2 separate regions of the Homo sapiens genome follow, and region 2 is linked to region 1. Evidence: promoter capture Hi-C in human tissues and cell types (Jung and others, 2019). All regions are on one chromosome and are shown on one strand. Each heading gives the region's core, a stretch centred on a gene start or on the middle of the fragment in contact. The rest is flanking DNA. Distances are from core to core; before and after follow the strand shown. Region 1 holds the start of ITGAD (integrin subunit alpha D). Region 2 has its middle 21 kb from the start of ITGAM.

Region 1 (4,431 bases), core at 1,263-3,762:
CCTCGTGACCAACTGAGCCTTCCTGTCCACTGGGGCTCACTGCCAGCACCACTTCCTCCATGGAACCCTCCTGGGTCTGCTCTCTCCCTGCCTGCGCCCCCCAGACCTTGGTGACACCTGTGTCACATTGTGACTTGAACTCTCTGGGACAGGAGAATGTGAGCTCCTGGAAGTGGGGGCAGGTTCATAATTTGTGGGTCCCAATTTGAAATAAAACTGTGGGGTCTCTTGGGGTTGGGGGGCTCTTACCTTTCTTCTGCTCTCTTCCTCAACCTGTCCTGACGTTTTTTATTTGCTATGTAGTGTCCCACTCCCTCGGGGTACTCCCAGAGTGAGCGCCCCTAACTGACTTTACCCAGCTCATGCCAGGGGCGGAAGGTAGCAGCGGTCATTGCTCCCACATGGGTGGGGGAGCCAGCAGCTGATACCCCTTCACCACCCTTCAGGAGGCGGTGGGAGGTGGGGCTGCTGCTGAGCTAAGGCTCCAAACCCCCAGTGCATCTCCCTTCTCCCATGACTTTTTTTTTTTGACGGAGTCTCACTCTGTCACCTAGGCTGGAGTAAAGTGGCACGATCTCGGCTCACTGCAACCTCCACCTCCCAGGTTCAAGCGATTCTCCTGCCTCAGCCTCCCAAGTAGCTGGGATTACAGATGCCTGCCACCATGCCCGGCTAATTTTTTTTGCATTTTTAGTAGAGATGGGGTTTTGCTGTGTTGGCCAAACTGGTCTCAAACTCCTGGCCTCAGATGATCTGCCCGCCTCAGCCTCCCAAAGCGTTGGGATTATAGGCGTGAGCCATGGTGCCCAGCCCTGCCATCATTCTTTACTTGCAAAACACAAATGCACAGATAAAATTTTTAAGAATTGGCAAGACAGGGTGGCTCACACCTGTAATCCCAGCACTTTGGGAGGCCAAGGCAGGAGGATTGCTTGAGCCCAGGAGTTCAGCCAGTCTGGACAACATAGCAAGACTCCATCTCTGTAAAAAGTAAAACAAAACAAAACAAAAAACAGGCATGATGGCATGCACCTGTGGTCCCAGCTATTCAGGAGGCTGAGGTGAGAGGATCACTTGTGCCCGAGAGTTTGAGGCTGCAGTAAGCTGTGATTGCACCACTGCACTCCAGCCTGGGTAACAGAGCTGGAGTAAAAATAAAAATAAAAATAATCAGGAATTTCAAGAGGTCAAGGGCAGAACATTAAACTCCAAAGTTAATGAGTGTGGGCCCTGTGTGACCATACTGGCCCCAAGAAGTGGGCCCTGCCTGGGAGGCAGGTTCAAGGCTTCCCTCCCGAGGTAAGGTAGGGTCTTGTCTAGAGTTTTGTGGCCTTTCCTGGGATTGAGAATAATAGGTGCTGATGTCAGGGCCTCCAAGGAGCCAAGGGAAGACTTCTCACCCCTGCTGGCCTTCCTCCAGGACACCTCCCTGGGGTAACCCACGTGTACCCATCCACAGGACTTGATGTAGTGGAGGTTGGGGAAGGAGGGTGAGTGGGGCCTACCGAGATCCACCGAACTGCACCACGCTCTGCCCAAAGCCGCCTGCATCCTCCTGGAAGATCGTAGGCTCCTCCACATCCAGGTTGAATCCATGATAAGAAGCCAGGACTGAGGAATATTTGGTGGGCGGGGAGGCTGGGAGTTAAAGAAGCCCCAATCCCTAGGACCTCCCAGCCTCTTTTTCTTTTTTTTCTTTTTTTTTTTTTTTTTTTTGAGATGGAGTCTCGCTCTGTTGCTGAGGCTGGAGTGCAACGGCACGATCTCAGCTCACTGCAACTTCCGTCTCCTGGGTTCAAGCGATTCTCTTGCCTCAGCTTCCCAAGTAGCTGGGATTACAAGTGCACGCCACCATGCCCGGCTAATTTTTATATTTTTGGTAAAGATGGGGTTTCACCATGTTGGCCAGGCTGGTCACAAACTCCTGACCTCAGGGGATACGCCCATCTCGGCCTCCCAAAGTGCTGGGATTATAAGCATGAGCCACCGCACCCAGCCAAGCCTGATTTTTGATGGCACGTGAATGTGACTCTGATGCAGTTTTCAGCAGGGGGCCTCTTCCCTACGTGCAGTCAGGACTTGGGGGAAACAGGCCCAGGGAGGTGATGTCCAACCTTTCCCCCTCCCTGGTGGCTTCTGTGGCCTTCCACTCCCGGGGGAGGCTGGGGAGACCTCTGTCACCCACACCAGGGACTCCATGAGTGGGAGCAGGGAAGCCTGGGACAACATAGCCAGCTGGAGAGGTAGCTTAGTCGCCACCTGAGCACAGCCCCTGAGCCCCTCTTCATTCAGGTCACACTCTACTGACTCCGGGCCACTCGCACATGAAGCACTCCCCTGCCTCAGCTCCTCATAAGAGTGGTTGGAGCCGACCACCAGCCCCCAGCCTGCCCTCCCAGATGGAGTCCCCTCAGAACTCCTCCAAGCTTCTCCCCAGCACCCTGGCCCCACTTACCACTCAGAAGAAGCACAGTGCCGAAGGTCATCCCTGAGCAGCGCGTTGAGGGGAAGTGGAAGGTTGGGGACAGAGCACAGAAGGTGCTCACCCTCCCAGGGGGTAGTTAAAATAATGATTCAGGGCCTCCACACAGCAGGAAGAGGGGCACAGTGGGTAGGAGGGGCGTGGTTAATTATGGAACAGAAGTGGGGGCAGGGGCCAACAACACCCTGGGGAAAAACCCTCATTCTGTCCCCCTCCACAACCTGCAGGGACCTGGCTTCCTTCTCCCAGAAGACCACCCTCCCCCAGGCCTCAGGAGCCAGTTGGTACCCAGGGAGCCCCGTAGCTCTCTGAGGTCCCACAGGAGTGGAAGGACAGGAAGCAGAATGGCTGCAGAGGTCTTGGCATGTGGATGTGAGCCGGCAGAGAGGCAGGGAGAAGGGGAGCTAGGCCAGGGTGTGGTTTCAAAAAGCAGAGCCCCTCCAGAGGAGAATGGACACCCAAAATAATAAAGTCATGCCATGGGCTACTACTCAGCAAGAAATAAGATCAAACTACAGATCAGATGCCATGGCTCATGCCTGTGGTCCCAGAGCTTGGCAGGTGGATTGCTTGAGGCCAACAGTTCGAGACCAGCCTAGGCAACATAGCCAGACCCTGTCTTTACAATAAATAACAAAGAACAAACTGCAGTTCTGTACAACAATACAGGTTAACTCAATTTTATCTTAAGTGAAAGAAACCAGACACCAGAATGCCTAATGTCTGGTTCCTTTCATATACAAGAGAATGGGCAAAATTCATCTACGAAGATAGAAATCAGAAGAGTGGTTGTCTATGGTGGGGCAGAGAGGAAACTTTTTTTTTTTTTGACAAGTTTTGCTATGTCGCCCATGCTGGAATGCAGTGGCATGATCAGGGCTCACTGCAGCCTCAAATTCCCAGACTCAAGCAATTCTCCCACCTCAGCCTCCCAGTCACTGGGATTACTGATGCACACCACCATGCCCAGCTAATTTTTTTGTTTTTTGTAGAGACGAGATCGCACTATGTTGCCCATGCTGGTCTCGAGCTCCTGGACTCAAGCAATCCTCCCACCTCCTCCTCCCAAAGTACTGGGATTACAGGCGTGAGCCACCACATCCAGCCAGGAACCTTTAGCATGTGTTAAATTTAGCATTTAACACAATATTTTAATATTTATTACATGGGGTTGGGGAGAAGATAAATGAGTGGTTGTTATTTATTTTCTGTGATTTTTCTGTATGTTTGAAATATTCCATGATTAAACATAAAAGTTCCTTTAAAATGTGAAAAAGAAAAAGGTCTATATATAAAAGGCTAGGAATAGGCCAGGCGCAGTGGCTCACACCTATAATCCCAGCACTTTGAGAGGCTGAGGTGGATGGATCACCTGAGGTCAGGAGTTTGAGACCAGCTCTGGCCAATATGGTGAAACCCCGTCTCTACTAAAAATACAAAAATTAGCTGGGCATGGTGGTGCGCACCTGTAATCCCAGCTACTCAGGAGGCTGAGGCAGGAGAATCGCTTGAACCCAGGAGGTAGAGTTTGCAGTGAGTCAAGATTGCGCCACTGCACTCCAGCCTGGGCGACAGAGCAAGACTGTCTCAATAAATAAAAAATAAAAAATAAATAAAAAGCTTAGGAATATACTTTGAAGGTTAAAATATAACAAGATCCCTACCTATAACATAAATTATTTTGTATATATATGTGACAATTATTTAAAACATTTGGCTGGGCACAGTGGCTTATGTCTGTAATTCCAGCACTTTGGGAGGCTGAGGCAGGTGTATAGCTTGAGGTCAGGAGTTCGGGACCAGCCTGGCCAACATGGTGAAACCCCATCTCTACTAAAAATACAAAGATTAGCCAGGCATGGTGGTGCACGCCTGTAATCCCAGCTACTCAGGAAGCTGAGGCAGGAGAATCGCTTAAACCCAGGAGGCAGAGGTTGCAGTGAGTCAAG
Region 2 (4,431 bases), core at 940-3,439, 150 kb after region 1:
CCATAAACAGAGTTGAAGGACAAGCTGTCAGATTAGGAGAAAACACTTGCCACACATGTATGTAGCAGAAAAAAAAAAAAGTATGCAGATATATAAAGAACCACAATAACTCATGAAGGAAAATAAGCAGCCGGGCGCACGGTGGCTCGTGACTGTAATCCCAGCACTTAAGGAGGCTGCGGAAGGTGGGTCACTTGAGGTCAGGAATTCGTGACCAGCTTGGCCAACATGGTGAAACCCCTTCTCTACTAAAAATACAAAAAGCCGGGCGTGGTGGTGCGCGCCTGTAATCCCAGCTACTCAAGAGGCTGAGGTAGGAGAATTGTTTGATCCTGGGAGGCAGAGGTTGCCGTGACCCAAGATCGTGCCACTGCACTCCAGTCTGGGTGACAGAGCGAGACTCCGTTTCAAAAAAAAAAAAAAGCCAAGGCATAGGAACAGACCATTTTTAGAAGAGGAATTATAACTGGTCAATAAATGCATACAATGAGAAAAATATAAATTAAACTTTTAAAAAGCCATGTGATACTATTTATTTATTTCCCATCATGTTGGCAAAAAGAAATAAGAATTTGAGCTTGATAATATTGAGTGCTCCAGCATGGCCAACATGGTGAAACCCTGTCTCTACTAAAACTACAAAAATTAGCCAGGCATGATAATTTTAGCCAGGCAAAAATTAGCCTGAAATCCCAGCTACTCGGGAGGCTGAGACAGGAAAATCCCTTGAACCCAGGAGTCGGAGGTTGCAGTGGGCCAAGATTGCACCACTGCACTCCAGCCTGGCAGCCTGGGCGACAGAATGAGATTCTGGCTCAAAAAAAAAAAAAAAAAGAGTGCTGGAGAAGATTTGGAGAAACTATATTCTCGTACGGTGCTGTTTGGAATGCAAATTGATAGAATTTTTGTTTACAGCCCCAAAGCTGAGGACAAAACTGATTAATACAAAGCCCCACATTCTAAACCGAGCCGCAGACACACCCTTTAGGATTCCTAGTGAGAGAGCAGGTCCATCTTGCTAATTTCCACCCTCATCACCCACCTCAATGAGACAGCTGTGGTGGTTCCTCACCTGCCCCCACAGGGACGTCCCACACCTCAAAGCAAGTGAGGAGGTTGCTCCAAAAGAAGCCCTGACCAGCCTGGGCAACATACTGAGACCCCATTTCTACTAAAATTAAAAAGTGAAAATTAGCCAGGCAGGGTGGCGCACACCTATAGTCCCAGCTACTTGGAAGGCTGAGGCGGGAGGATCGCTTGAGCCCAGGAGTTGGAGGCTGCAGTGAGCTGTGATTGCACCTCTGAACTCCAGCCTGAGTGACAGAGACCTTGTCTCAAAAACAAACAAACAAACAATACAACAACAATTAAAAAAGAAGAAGAAGAAGCCCTTGTGGAGATTGGAGGCGGCTCTCCTGGGCTGCAGGAACCGGAAGGCTCAGATGAAGGCTGACAAGAGGTTCTTAGGAGAACCTGATGCAGGCCCCTGAGTGTGGCATCCACCAGTGCTGTCATCCAACCCAGAGGATTCTGGAGGAGGAACGAGAAGGTCCGGAGCAGCCCGAAGGGGCCAGACAGGGAGAGAGAGGAGGGCACGTCCTTTTGGATAGGTGAGAATAAATGAGACCCCTAGGCCTGGTGAATGCCAACAAAATGAGCGGGCTCTAGTGTTGTGGCGGCCCCTGCCCTAAACAGCTGCCTACCCTGGCAAAGGGACGGGCAGTGAGAGGCTGCCGGGAGTGGAATCCCCTGGGGCAGGGGCAGGGAGGAAGGACTGAGGGGTTGTCATAAGAGGCCAGCCAGAAAGCGTCTGCCTATACCACCTCAGAAGAAGCCAACACCTCCCAGGAGAGCACATGACAGGTGTCACAGATCATAGACACACCAATCATGTGTCACCCAGCCCCTTTTCCTCTGATTAACCTTGACCTTGAAGGAGCCAGCAGAGAGGAGTGGGGAGGGTTCCTTCACCACTTTAGGTCACCTTATTTATATTTACATTAAAAAAAAAAATACTGGGTCTCCTTCTAATTGCCCAGGCTGACACGTAGTGGCCCAATCATAGCTCACTGCAGCCTCCAACTACTGGACTCAAGCAATCCTCCTGCCTCAGCCTCCTGAGTAGCTGGGACCCCAGGCGAGCATCACCATATCCAGCCTTTTTTTTTTTTTCTGGAGAGATGGGGTCTCACTATGACTGGTCACAAACCCCTGGACTCAAATGCTTCTCCCACCTCGACCTCCCAAAGTGCTGGTATTATAGGCGTGAGCCACCGCGCCTCACCAGGTCTCTTTAAATTGGATGTGATATTAACTTTGGAACCGTGCTGGGCTTTTTTTTCATATCTGAAAATGAGACTCCCAAAGTGCAAAGCTATCCTCCCACCTCAGCCTCCCAAGTAGCTGAGACTACAGGCATGAACCACCATGCCTGGCTAATTCTTTTTTGAGATAGAGTCTTGCTCTGTCACCCAGGCTGGAGTGCAGTGACACAATCTCTGCTCACTGCAGCCTCTGTCTCCTGGTTCAAGTGATTCTCCTGCCTCAGCCTCCCGAGTAGCTGGGATTACAGGTGCCCACCACTGCACCCAGCTAATTGTATTTTTAGTAGAGACGGGGTTTCACCATGTTGACCAGGCTGGTCTCGAAATCCTCACCTTGGGTGATCCGCCTGCCTCGGCCTCCCAAAGTGCTGGGATTACAGGCATGACTCATCATGCCTGGCCAAAAAAATTTTTTTTAATTAAATTTTAAAAATAGGCCGGGCGCGGTGGCTCACGCCTGTAATCCCAGCACTTTGGGAGTCCGAGGCAGGTTGATCACGAGGTCAGGAGATCGAGACCATCCTGAAACCCCATCTCTACTAAAAATACAAAAAATTAGCCGGGCGAGGTGGTGGGCGCCTGTAGTCCCAGCTACGCGGGAGGCTGAGGCAGGAGAATCACTTGAACCTGGAAGGCAGAGGTTGCAGTGAGCTGACATCACACCACTGCACTCCAGCCTGGGTGACAGAGCAAGACTCTGTCTCAAAACATAAAACAAAACTACTCACTAAACTTGACAATATTACTTCTGATGAGGAGGAAAAAGAAATAATCAGCACTGGGGGTGTGGTCAAAGGAAACCTTCCCCTTATCTGTAAGATATAATTAAGTACAGACATGCGTTGTTTTATTGTAGTTCACTTTATTGCTTTTCATGGATACCGCATTTTCTGCAAACTGAAGGTCTGTGGCAACCCTGCGTCAAGCAAATCTATTGGTGCCATTTTTTCAACAGCACGTGCTCACTGCACCTCTCTTTGTCAGATTTTGGTAATTCTCACAATATTTCAAGCTTTTCATCATTCTTCTATCTGTGATGGTGATCTGTGATCAGTGATCTTTGAAGTTACTATTGTAATTGTTTTGGGGTACCACAAACCTCAACCATAAAAGATGGTGAACATAATGGATAAATGTGTGCATTCTGACTGCTCCACCAGTCAGTGGTTCCCCTCTCTCTCCCAGTCCTTGTGCCTCTTTATTCTCTTAGACACAACAATATTGAAATTAGTACAATGAGTAACCCTAGTGTCCTCTAAGTGTTCAAGTGAAAGGAAGGGTCATGTTAAATCAAAGGAAGCGTCATGTTAAATCAAATTATTAAGCTTAGCGAGGAAGGCGTTTCAAAAGCTGAGACAGAGGCTGGGCGCAGTGGCTCACGACTGTAATCGTAGCACTTTGGCAGGCCGAATCGGGTGGATCACCTGAGATCAGAAGTTTAAGACCAGCCTGGCCAACATGGTGAAACCCTCTCTTTACTAAAAATACAAAAATTAGCAGGGTGTGGTGGTGGGCGCCTGTAATCCCAGCTACTCAGGAGGCTGAAGCAGGAGTATCACTCGAACCCGGGAGGCGGAGGTTGCAGTGAGCCAAGATCATACCACTGCACTCCAGCCTGGGTGACAGACCAAGACTCTGTCTCAAAAAAAAAAGGCTGAGAGATAGGCTGAAGGCTAGGCCTTTTGCACCAGTTAGCCAAATAGTGAATGCAAAGGAAAAGTTATTGAAGGAAGTTTAAAGTGCTACTCCAAGGCCTGGCACAGTGGCTCAGCTAATAATTTCAATACTTTGGGAGGCCAAGGTGGGAGTATCACTTGAGCCCAGGAGTTTGAGACCAGCCTAAACAACATAGCGAGACCCTGTCTCTAAAAAATATTTTAAAAATTTAAAAATTAGCCAGCATGGTAGTTCACACCTGCAGTCCCAGTACTCAGGAGGCTGAGGTGGGAGGATCATTTGAGCCCAGGAGGTCCAGGCTGCAATGAGCCGTGATTGCACCACTACACTCCAGCCTGGACAACAGAAAGAAATCTTGTCTCAAAAAAAAAAGTGCTACTCCAGTGAACGTGAATAATAAGAAAGTGAAACAGCCTAATTGCTGATACGA

What was found. Contacts are between HindIII fragments. The study calls those that stand out against the background at their distance.
Region 2: a contact is called between a fragment that was not itself captured here and the fragment with the promoter of ITGAD in region 1, in 1 of the 25 tissues and cell types used here (dorsolateral prefrontal cortex).

The regions. Positions count from the first base shown.
Region 1 is chr16:31,391,416-31,395,846 of GRCh38, reverse strand. ITGAD (integrin subunit alpha D) reads right to left here and starts at 2,512. Exons shown (of 30, transcript NM_005353.3): 1 at 2,456-2,512; 2 at 1,506-1,611. The coding sequence starts at 2,486. The HindIII fragment of the contact is 7,632 bases long and covers 1-4,431 here.
Region 2 is chr16:31,237,009-31,241,439 of GRCh38, reverse strand. No RefSeq gene overlaps it. Among named protein-coding and RNA genes, the nearest start is that of ITGAM, 21 kb to the left of the region's middle. The HindIII fragment of the contact is 6,547 bases long and covers 1-4,431 here.